Linked DNA regions of Homo sapiens: region 2 is linked to region 1. The links are contacts of gene promoters, found by promoter capture Hi-C in blood cells and fetal thymus (Javierre and others, 2016). All regions are on one chromosome and are shown on one strand. Each heading gives the region's core, a stretch centred on a gene start or on the middle of the fragment in contact. The rest is flanking DNA. Distances are from core to core; before and after follow the strand shown.

What was found. The method cuts DNA at HindIII sites, captures the fragments that hold promoters and counts their contacts. A CHiCAGO score of 5 or more calls a contact.
Region 2: a fragment that was not itself captured here is called in contact with the fragment with the promoter of ARHGAP18 in region 1 in 1 of 17 cell types (erythroblasts); the score reaches 5.2 in erythroblasts.

The regions. Positions count from the first base shown.
Region 1 is chr6:129,707,795-129,712,051 of GRCh38, forward strand. ARHGAP18 (Rho GTPase activating protein 18) reads right to left here and starts at 2,383. Exons shown (of 15, transcript NM_033515.3): 1 at 2,230-2,383. The coding sequence starts at 2,342. RefSeq lists a silencer at 2,657-2,736. The HindIII fragment of the contact is 10,321 bases long and covers 1-4,257 here.
Region 2 is chr6:129,500,054-129,504,310 of GRCh38, forward strand. LAMA2 (laminin subunit alpha 2) reads left to right here. Exons shown (of 65, transcript NM_000426.4): 59 at 2,606-2,718; 60 at 3,038-3,227. LOC102723409 (a long non-coding RNA gene) reads right to left here. Exons shown (of 8, transcript XR_001743860.2): 7 at 2,552-2,738. Among named protein-coding and RNA genes, the nearest start is that of ARHGAP18, 210 kb to the right of the region's middle. RefSeq lists an enhancer at 1,656-2,855. The HindIII fragment of the contact is 4,428 bases long and covers 1-3,981 here.

The DNA.
Region 1 (4,257 bases), core at 1,133-3,632:
ACCCAGCCTAATGTAGCCTTTTTAAGAGTTTTGTTTTGTTTTTACTTTTTGGAGAACTTCTTTAAATAGGCATCAACCATCAACCTTGCACCTTGGAGCAGCTTCCCAGGGCTTAAAACAACACCTGACCAACCCAGCCAAAGCCAAAGCCAAAGTCCAGTTCACCGCCCCGAAACCACTATCACCATTCTTAGGTGGTCACCGAGGACCCCATCCCACCTTCAAATCCTCCTTCCTTCTATCCATCCCCTCCCCCATAGCAATTACAGTATCTCAATCCTTTCAGGCTAAACAGGGTATCTCCCAAAACAACAACAAGTTTATCTGATTCGTTAGCCCTTAAGGGTAAAAGCCATTGAAAACTAGCCCTACTCCCTCCTTCCTCCCTGCCCTCAAACCAGGCTCCCATCTTCTCCGGTCAATATCAGGAACGATCCCTAGAACTAATTCAGTGGTGGGAAGTTGGGTCTGGTATGGGCAGGCTACGTGACAGCCAGCAAAGGAGCTCACCTGGAGCTGTGGCCCCACACAGGGCACTTGCCGTGTGGGCAGCTGCCCACCCTGCCACCTTAGTGCCTCTTGGTTCTGCTTCAGCCTAGGCAGAGAATGATCTGATCCTCTCTTATTCTCTCAACCCACTCAAGTATGGGCCACCCACACTGCAAACACAGAATAATGAGTCTCCAGAACTGGAGATGCAGCCCCAGACAAAGGCCTAGAACTCCAGACCTTCCAAAAACTTAACTAATCCCTGGGGTTTGAGTCCTACGTGAAAATGAGAGGTTAGGACTCAGTCCTTAAGGTCCTTTCCATTCTCACAATCAAGATCCAAGATTCAGCTCAGGTCCTCAGGCCATTCAGCCTAAAGTCGGAGAATGTCCTGAGCTTGTATAATTTTGGCAATTTTGACTGACATGTGGAATCCAAGTTATGGCTGGGTATGGGGTTGGTGTTGCAGGCTGCTTTACTGCTTAATGATTACTAATACATTACAGAAAAATGGATGAAAACACTTCAAGATCTCTTGATTTAATGATTTAACATTAAGTCATTTAAAATGATGGAAAATGAAATGGTAACACAGCTAAGGCACAAGCACCAAATCTTTTTTATCTTTGGAAATGAATTCATTCAATGAAATACATACTGTGGATGCTATGTGAGAAACAGTTCCCGTCAGCTGGGAGTCTAACACTGAGTATTACAGCCATTCCTTTGATTTTTCTCCCTCCCTCATATTTGGAGATTTTAAAACAAATGAAAGGCAGCATTATTTCAGCTTAAGGCACAGGCATAAGTCACATAAGAACAAAGAAGGTTTTATTATCACATTAAGCATTGAGGAGGAAATGTGCTTACCGATAACTAATTTAGTGTTCTAGGCTATTAGGTTAGTATTTGCTTCTTGCAATCTTCTAGGCCAATATTTACTATTTATATCTTGATGGAGGTAAAAATGTTCAGCTAGTGAGAAGGTCATTAAGGAGAGAAAGAAAAAAAAAAGCCCTTGGAAAATGGAACAAAGTACACAGATAGGGAGAAAGGTACCCTTTGCGCCTCAGTGGTCTATAGAACATTTGCCCTCTCTGCCTATAAAGTGATTTAACATTAACCACATTTCACTCCAGCAGCAGAGTGCTATCTCCTGACAAAAACTCCTTTTTGAAAGCCTGGGGGAAAAAAAATCCACATACACAAAAGAATGTGAAACATATTGCCACAGGCCAGTGTCTTGGGCTTTTTGCCTAAGAGGTTTGCTTTCAGCAAAGAGAGGGGGGAAAAAAAACACTCTAACAACAACAGCTTGTACAGTACAGTGAACAGCCTCCCTGCTTTTTGGCAGACTTTCCCAGCGAACAGTTCCAGTGGCAGTGCCTTGAGCCCATTCAAGAATTCCATTTCATAGGAAAGGAAGTGTTTCAGATAGACCTATTTGATCTTTCAGCATGTGCAAATGCACCTGCTAAATAGCTAGTCTGACAGCCCATATAGCCCTCTCCCCAGTTCCTTCTTCTCTGTCTTCACCAGTAATCATATGGGTTATTTCAGACTTGGACTAGGTGAGATGAAAAGTACATAAAAATCACGCCAAACGTTGCTACTGCTGCTGCACGAGCTCAGGCTCGACGTGCAGATGGAATTCCCTTCTCCCCACGCCAACTTCCCTGTCACTTTCTTCCTGGAGCAGGTAAGAGGGTTTTGTTTTGTTTTCAGCTTCCGAAGGCTTACCTCGAGGTGGCTTCCTCCCCTGCCTTTGCATGGCTGTTCCCGACGGTCTGGTCCTTGCCGCTGGGGTGGTAGGCTGTTAGTACCACTCCCTGGGAACTGGAGAGCCAGCTCATGGTGAGAGAAGGGACATACTTTCTGCGATCCTGACACAGAGAAGGGGAAAGAAGTTCCTGTCTCGCCTGGCAACTCGCTCATTAGCATTGGCCAGCTCCTCCCCGCAGGCTGGCGATTCACACGGGGAGGGGCGGGGTCTGTCCAGGGAAGGGCTTCCTGCCTCTCCAATTAGAAGCTGCAACTCACAGCATGGTTTCAACTCTGGACAATTGCACTCTGGGCGGCTTTGGTTAAAGGAGGCGAAGGGTGGAAGCGACGGGTTGCACCCACCCCCAAGTTAGTCTGATCAGATTAAACTGCCAGAACGTATATTCAACTCATCACTGTAACTACAAGCCGTCTTACTTAGGAAACCATGAGTTGCTGCCAAGGCTTTTTTTTTTCCCTCCCCAATTCCTCTATCTTATAATTTCTGCTACTTAATGTAACATGAGTAAAGGCATTTCTTAACCCCTTCATGTTCAGCGTTAAAATTAGCCATAGTAAAAAACAACGAACCCGCGGCAAAACTCTGCAATCCAGACGACGAGAAAGGCTTGATCCTTGTGTCCGGTTAAAAATGCCCTCATAAAAATTGTGTGTCCTGGAATGTCGTCGTCTTTCACATAAAGCCAATCTCAAATATACGTCTTGTTTTAGCAAAATATTTTTCAGCACCAAAAAGGGATAGACCTACCAATGCTCTGTTAAGTGTTATTGCTGAGAACAAGAGAAGTCCCTGCCATTTGTTGAGCACCTACTATATGCCAAGCTCTCATGGACGGGGGTTTCACATGTATTATCTCATTCCATTCAATTCTCTCTCTCTCACACACACACACACACCGTACAAGATAGGTATCACTATCATCTGTGTTATACATAACACAAGGAAAGTAAGGCTGAGGGACGAGTTAAGTAACTTCACTAAGATAACACAGTTGCTAGTGCCAGAAGCTGGATTTGAACAGAATTCTAGGCTACATTCCTTTTATTTTTCACCAGTATGCTCTTCTTTGTTTTGCAGATTAAGAAACAAGATCAAAATTATCATAAACACAAAAGACAGCTCTGTTCTTTCTCCCCATCTCCCCTCCAAAAAAAAAAATCACTTTTTTGGTTTGTTTTTGAATCAGGGTCTCACTCTGTCACCCAGGCTGGAGTACAGTGGTGATTGTAACTCACTGCAGCCTCAACCTCCCAGGCTCAAGAAATCCTCCAGCCTCAGCCTCCCCAATAGCTAAGACCACAGGCATGCACTACCACGCCCAGCTAATTTTTTTATGCTTTGTGGAGAGGGAGGGTCTCACTGTGTTGCCCAGGCTGGTCTTGAACTCCTGGGCTCAAGCAATCCTCTTGGCTCAAGCTCCCAAAGTATTGAGATTACAGGCATGAGCCACCACGCCTGGCTTCTACTCTGACATACCCAGTAGTCTGAAGGTTTTTTTAGATTTTTATGATTCATTCAACTCTCTAGAATTCCTCTTGAACAAGTTTCCAATTCCATCATTACATAAACTTATTGCTTATACCTTATCATTATTTAAAACAGTCATGAAAAATAATTTCTTCCTCCTTACATACTCTAGAAGTATCTGAAATTTATTTTTGAACCCTCTTTCTTATAATTTACAAAAGTCTTCCTTAAAAGGAATTTATATCTTCCTCCCTCCCCCCTGCACAACTGCTCAACCTTCCCATTTCCACTTCCATAGGACTTTACTTGCTGTCTCCTTTTTATCCCCATGACCTCAACCACCTCTGGATCCTATAATGCAGTCTTAGCTCCAATATTACAACAGCCCTTTTAGCTCATCTCCCTGTCACCTCCTTTAAATTGCTTTGACATTATGATCACACCCTGGCACTCATGATCCCTCTCCTCGCTTAAAAACCTTCATTGGCTCTCTATTGCTAACAGAGCCAGTTCCAGGC
Region 2 (4,257 bases), core at 518-3,017, 210 kb before region 1:
CCTTACACCCATCAGACTTGGTTTCAGTTTACCCAAGGAAAAGTGATGCAAGGAAGACACCCTTTAACCAAGCAAGGGGGAGGTCGAGATTTGTACAAAACACTACCAAATTAGAGGGTGGGGAATTTTTGTCCCATTTAAATCCTAAGGTACATATTTTTAAAAACCCTCTTACACCAGCACTTCTCAGTCCTTTTCCAACTGCCAGTTTAATAAAGGAAGGTGATAGAAGTTTTATTAAAACAGTATCCATCCTGTTGCAAATCAATGATTGATAGTAAACATCACCTTGGATGTCCTTAAAAACAAAGGACTATACACCATAATGGCTTTAAACTTTGAGGTTACATGTTAGAGTGATCAGTTTGGTACAACTCTTTTCCATAACATTGGCTCATCTGAGAATACCGTTTTATTAAGCACTGCTTCTGCCTGCTTCTTGAGGGCTGCCCGTTGCAGAAACGGAGGATCTAATCCAGGAGGTGTTCTTCTTCCTAAATTTCAAGTGGATGTAACCTGTAATGATTCTTAAAAGAACTTTGACAAAGTCCCTGTCCTTTTCTGGTCAAAGGTTTTTTTCTAAAATGGCTTGACCAGTGCCTTGTCCATCTAGAAAATCTCATAGTATACAACGAAACAACAACAAAATAAAAACAAACCAAAAAACTGCTGCTTAGCTCAGGACCAGTTTTGGATACACCTGTCCAGTCTACCAGCAATCCAAAAGTTCCCCATAACATACAGCTGCTACCGGGAGTGTACAACTGCCACCTTGAAAATTTTTTAAATTTTAATAGAGAAGTTATATTGACATTTACATATAGTAATTAGACGAGTGACTGTAACCGCAATAATATGGACATAACCCACTGGTGGTTCTCTTTTAAGCTACATGTAATTGTTTCCTAATTCCTCAGCATCCATCCACCTTTCTTAATCCCTCAATTTTCAGAGCTGAGGGTGTAAAGATGTTTCAGTGAAATTCTGCCCCCAGTGGACTCACAGCAGATAGGATTATCTTAGTGATTTCTGAGGAAGACTGCAAGCTGCGTGTGTTTATCGAGACGGTCCTCTGTCCGGGAAATATCGTGAGAGGCTGATAAAAGATCCCAATTCTATTAATAGAAGTATTCATGACTGAGATCTTAAGCTACAGAGGCCTTTCCATTCGGGCTCTTTTTGCAGGCAGCGTAATAAGAAAGGTGCCACATGCTGCCTCTAAAAGAGGCCATTCAGCTGTGCGAATGAATAGCATTTTCCTGTCCTACCCACGGGGTTTTGCATAGCTGTGTGAATTTCGGCCACAGTCTGCTCTTTATAACTGACCATCTCCTGGGAAGCAAGAAGGGAAATACTTCCATGAAGACCAATTTTACGGCATTTCAAAACACTTTAAGCCTTTTACCTGCTGTGGCAGAGTGCTTCGTTTGACTAAGATCAAGAGAAAAGAGAACAAGGCTTTTCCTCATCAAGTAAAAATTTCCTGTGTGCTGATGAGTCATCTCTGAGGTACACTCTTTGGGAAGAACACTGTGCATCAAAAGCCTGCCTTGGGCTGCTTGAGAACCTCTGCTGAGTCAGCACTCACTGGGGCAGCGGCCCAGCCAGAGCTATTAAGTGCAGATCTTAAAAACAGATGTGTTGGTGAGAGTGTGCAGGTTATTTTCTCATGTACTGCATGTTCTAAGAGATGTCATAAGCAGCCTGTATATCGACCTATCTTGTGAAAATAGAGAACAGGGAAAGGAATTGTGGCTTTGGTAATTTAAGGAGCCTTGATTATTTATGGAGCTGTGTGTTATGGTAGCCAAATGTGATCTACTCAGCCAGGACTGCTGTATGCTTTGCAAGGCCCAGTGCAAAATGGAAAATGCAGGGCCCCTCACTGAAAAATTATTAAGAATTTCAAGATGGTGACAGCAGAGCATTAAACCATGTGACTGCACAGCCCCGCACCTAGCTCTCCCCCTCAGCACCCTAGGAAGCTGATCTTTGAACAGTGGCAGTTGAAATGGTGTATGGTGGGTTACATTTTTAAAATGTGCTGGGTTGCCTAGCAACTGGCAAGGGCCTGAATGGGCTGACGTGCAGGTTTAGATACACCATCTTGAAAGTCTACATTCATGGAAACCTTCTAGTGGACTGATAATTTTCAAGAAAAAGTAATATAGTGGGAGATGGAAATGGGGAGGGCAAGAAAAAACACATTTTGCTACTCTTATAACCCAAGTGGCTAGCTTGTCATTTTCCCTGTTCGATCTTCTAAGAATAGAGCTCTTCATATGTGAAGGAAAAATGAAAGGGAAATTCCAGTTTTCTCAGAAATATACATAAATTTTTAGAGGATAATGAAACTATGAGTTAATCAATAAATATGTCTGAGCACATTCCTTTAGCCATTCCAGGGTGTGATATGAGAAAACTGATTCACACGCACTGAGCACTCAATAATAAGTACTTACTATGCAGTAGACTACAGAGATGAATAATGTAGTTTTTATTCTTAAAGAATTACGCTAATATGTAAGAAACAATTAGACAGCATCATTACCTTTTTAAAGAACAGTCCATAATCTCCTGTTTTTCTCTCCTGGGTATTTTACAGGGTCCTTGTGCTGCAGAATCAGAACCAGCTCTTTTGATAGGGAGCAAGCAGTTCGGGCTTTCAAGAAACAGTCACATTGCAATTGCATTTGATGACACCAAAGTTAAAAACCGGTATGTATCATCCTGAGACACTGGGAAAGAACCGATAAATGAAGAACTGAGTATTTGTGTTTAATCAAGTTGAATCTACTACACTTATTAATTAATGAAGTTAGCTTTTCTTTTATTCACTGAGTACAATAGAGAATAGAATTTTATTTGTCTGAGCCTGAGGAGCCCAATTTAGGAAATCAGTAGCCTGATAAAGTCCTCATCTCTGAGAAGGTTTTACTCTCCTTTATGAAAATGCAGCCACGATCTGATACCGCTCTATTTTAGCATGAGAATGCTGTTATTTTTCTGTTTGACTTTGCATGCTTTTGTTTCACAGTCTCACAATTGAGTTGGAAGTAAGAACCGAAGCTGAATCCGGCTTGCTTTTTTACATGGCTCGCATCAATCATGCTGATTTTGCAACAGTTCAGCTGAGAAATGGATTGCCCTACTTCAGCTATGACTTGGGGAGTGGGGACACCCACACCATGATCCCCACCAAAATCAATGATGGCCAGTGGCACAAGGTAATAGTCCCCTGGATATTGGCAGTACCCTAAGGGAATTACTGAGTGGCAGCCATCAGCATTCTCCTGGTGCCAGTATATTTTGCCAGGGCAGACACTGACTCTGGCAGAAGCTAAAAATAAAATAAGTGCCATATACAACTACCACAATCTTGGAAAATGTGCTCAGACCTGTGTAGGTTTGCATTTGACCACTGGCATGCCTCATCATGGTTCCATCACTGCTATATGGCTGTGGTTTTCAAACATCTACCCATAAACTGAGGCCAGGTGGCTGAAGACATTTCCACTGCTCTAAGTGAGAAACGTAGAACAGAGTGTGTTCACCATCAAGCTCGATGTATTCAATTTTAAGGAATAATATTTATTCTGAGATTATATTATAGCATTTTTATGGTGGCTAAAAGGCCTTTCTATTATGAAATAGTATTTGCCAAAAGCAAAAGTTGGCAACACTAAAATGGGTCCCAAGACTCCCCACCTAACCACACAGTGGTCTGTGAAAACCAGGAATCCAGGAATCTCTGGTTGATCGTGTTTAAAGGGCTCTAAGGTATCATTTCTACTGACAGTTATTTGGAACAACTTTAAAAACGTTGGCCTTACACCCAGAAACTGGTACTATTATGGGCACAGAAGGCTCATTTGCCAGCTTACTGTCCTCTTTGGCATGACTGCAAATAGATAATATACTGCCTGATTAAAACAAAATCTCAACATTTGTCTCTGCACCTGCGATAGCCTATTAAAGCAAAGCTTCCCTAGGTAGACCAATAAAATTTTTAATTTTCAGAGTACGATATTATTAGATGTTAGATTTGGTTAATGTTAACATACTTTGACTTGTCATATTCTAGAAAGCCAAAGAACCTTAAAAAACGCGAAGCCAACCAATTTGTTATCATGGAAATAAGAAAAGGAATCTTCATTTTTGCTGGGAGCTTATGACTAGCAAATACAGATCCAAATGAAGGAGCTCTCATTAAGAGTTCTTCCATCTCTAGCTAATAGAATAATAAATATGACATTT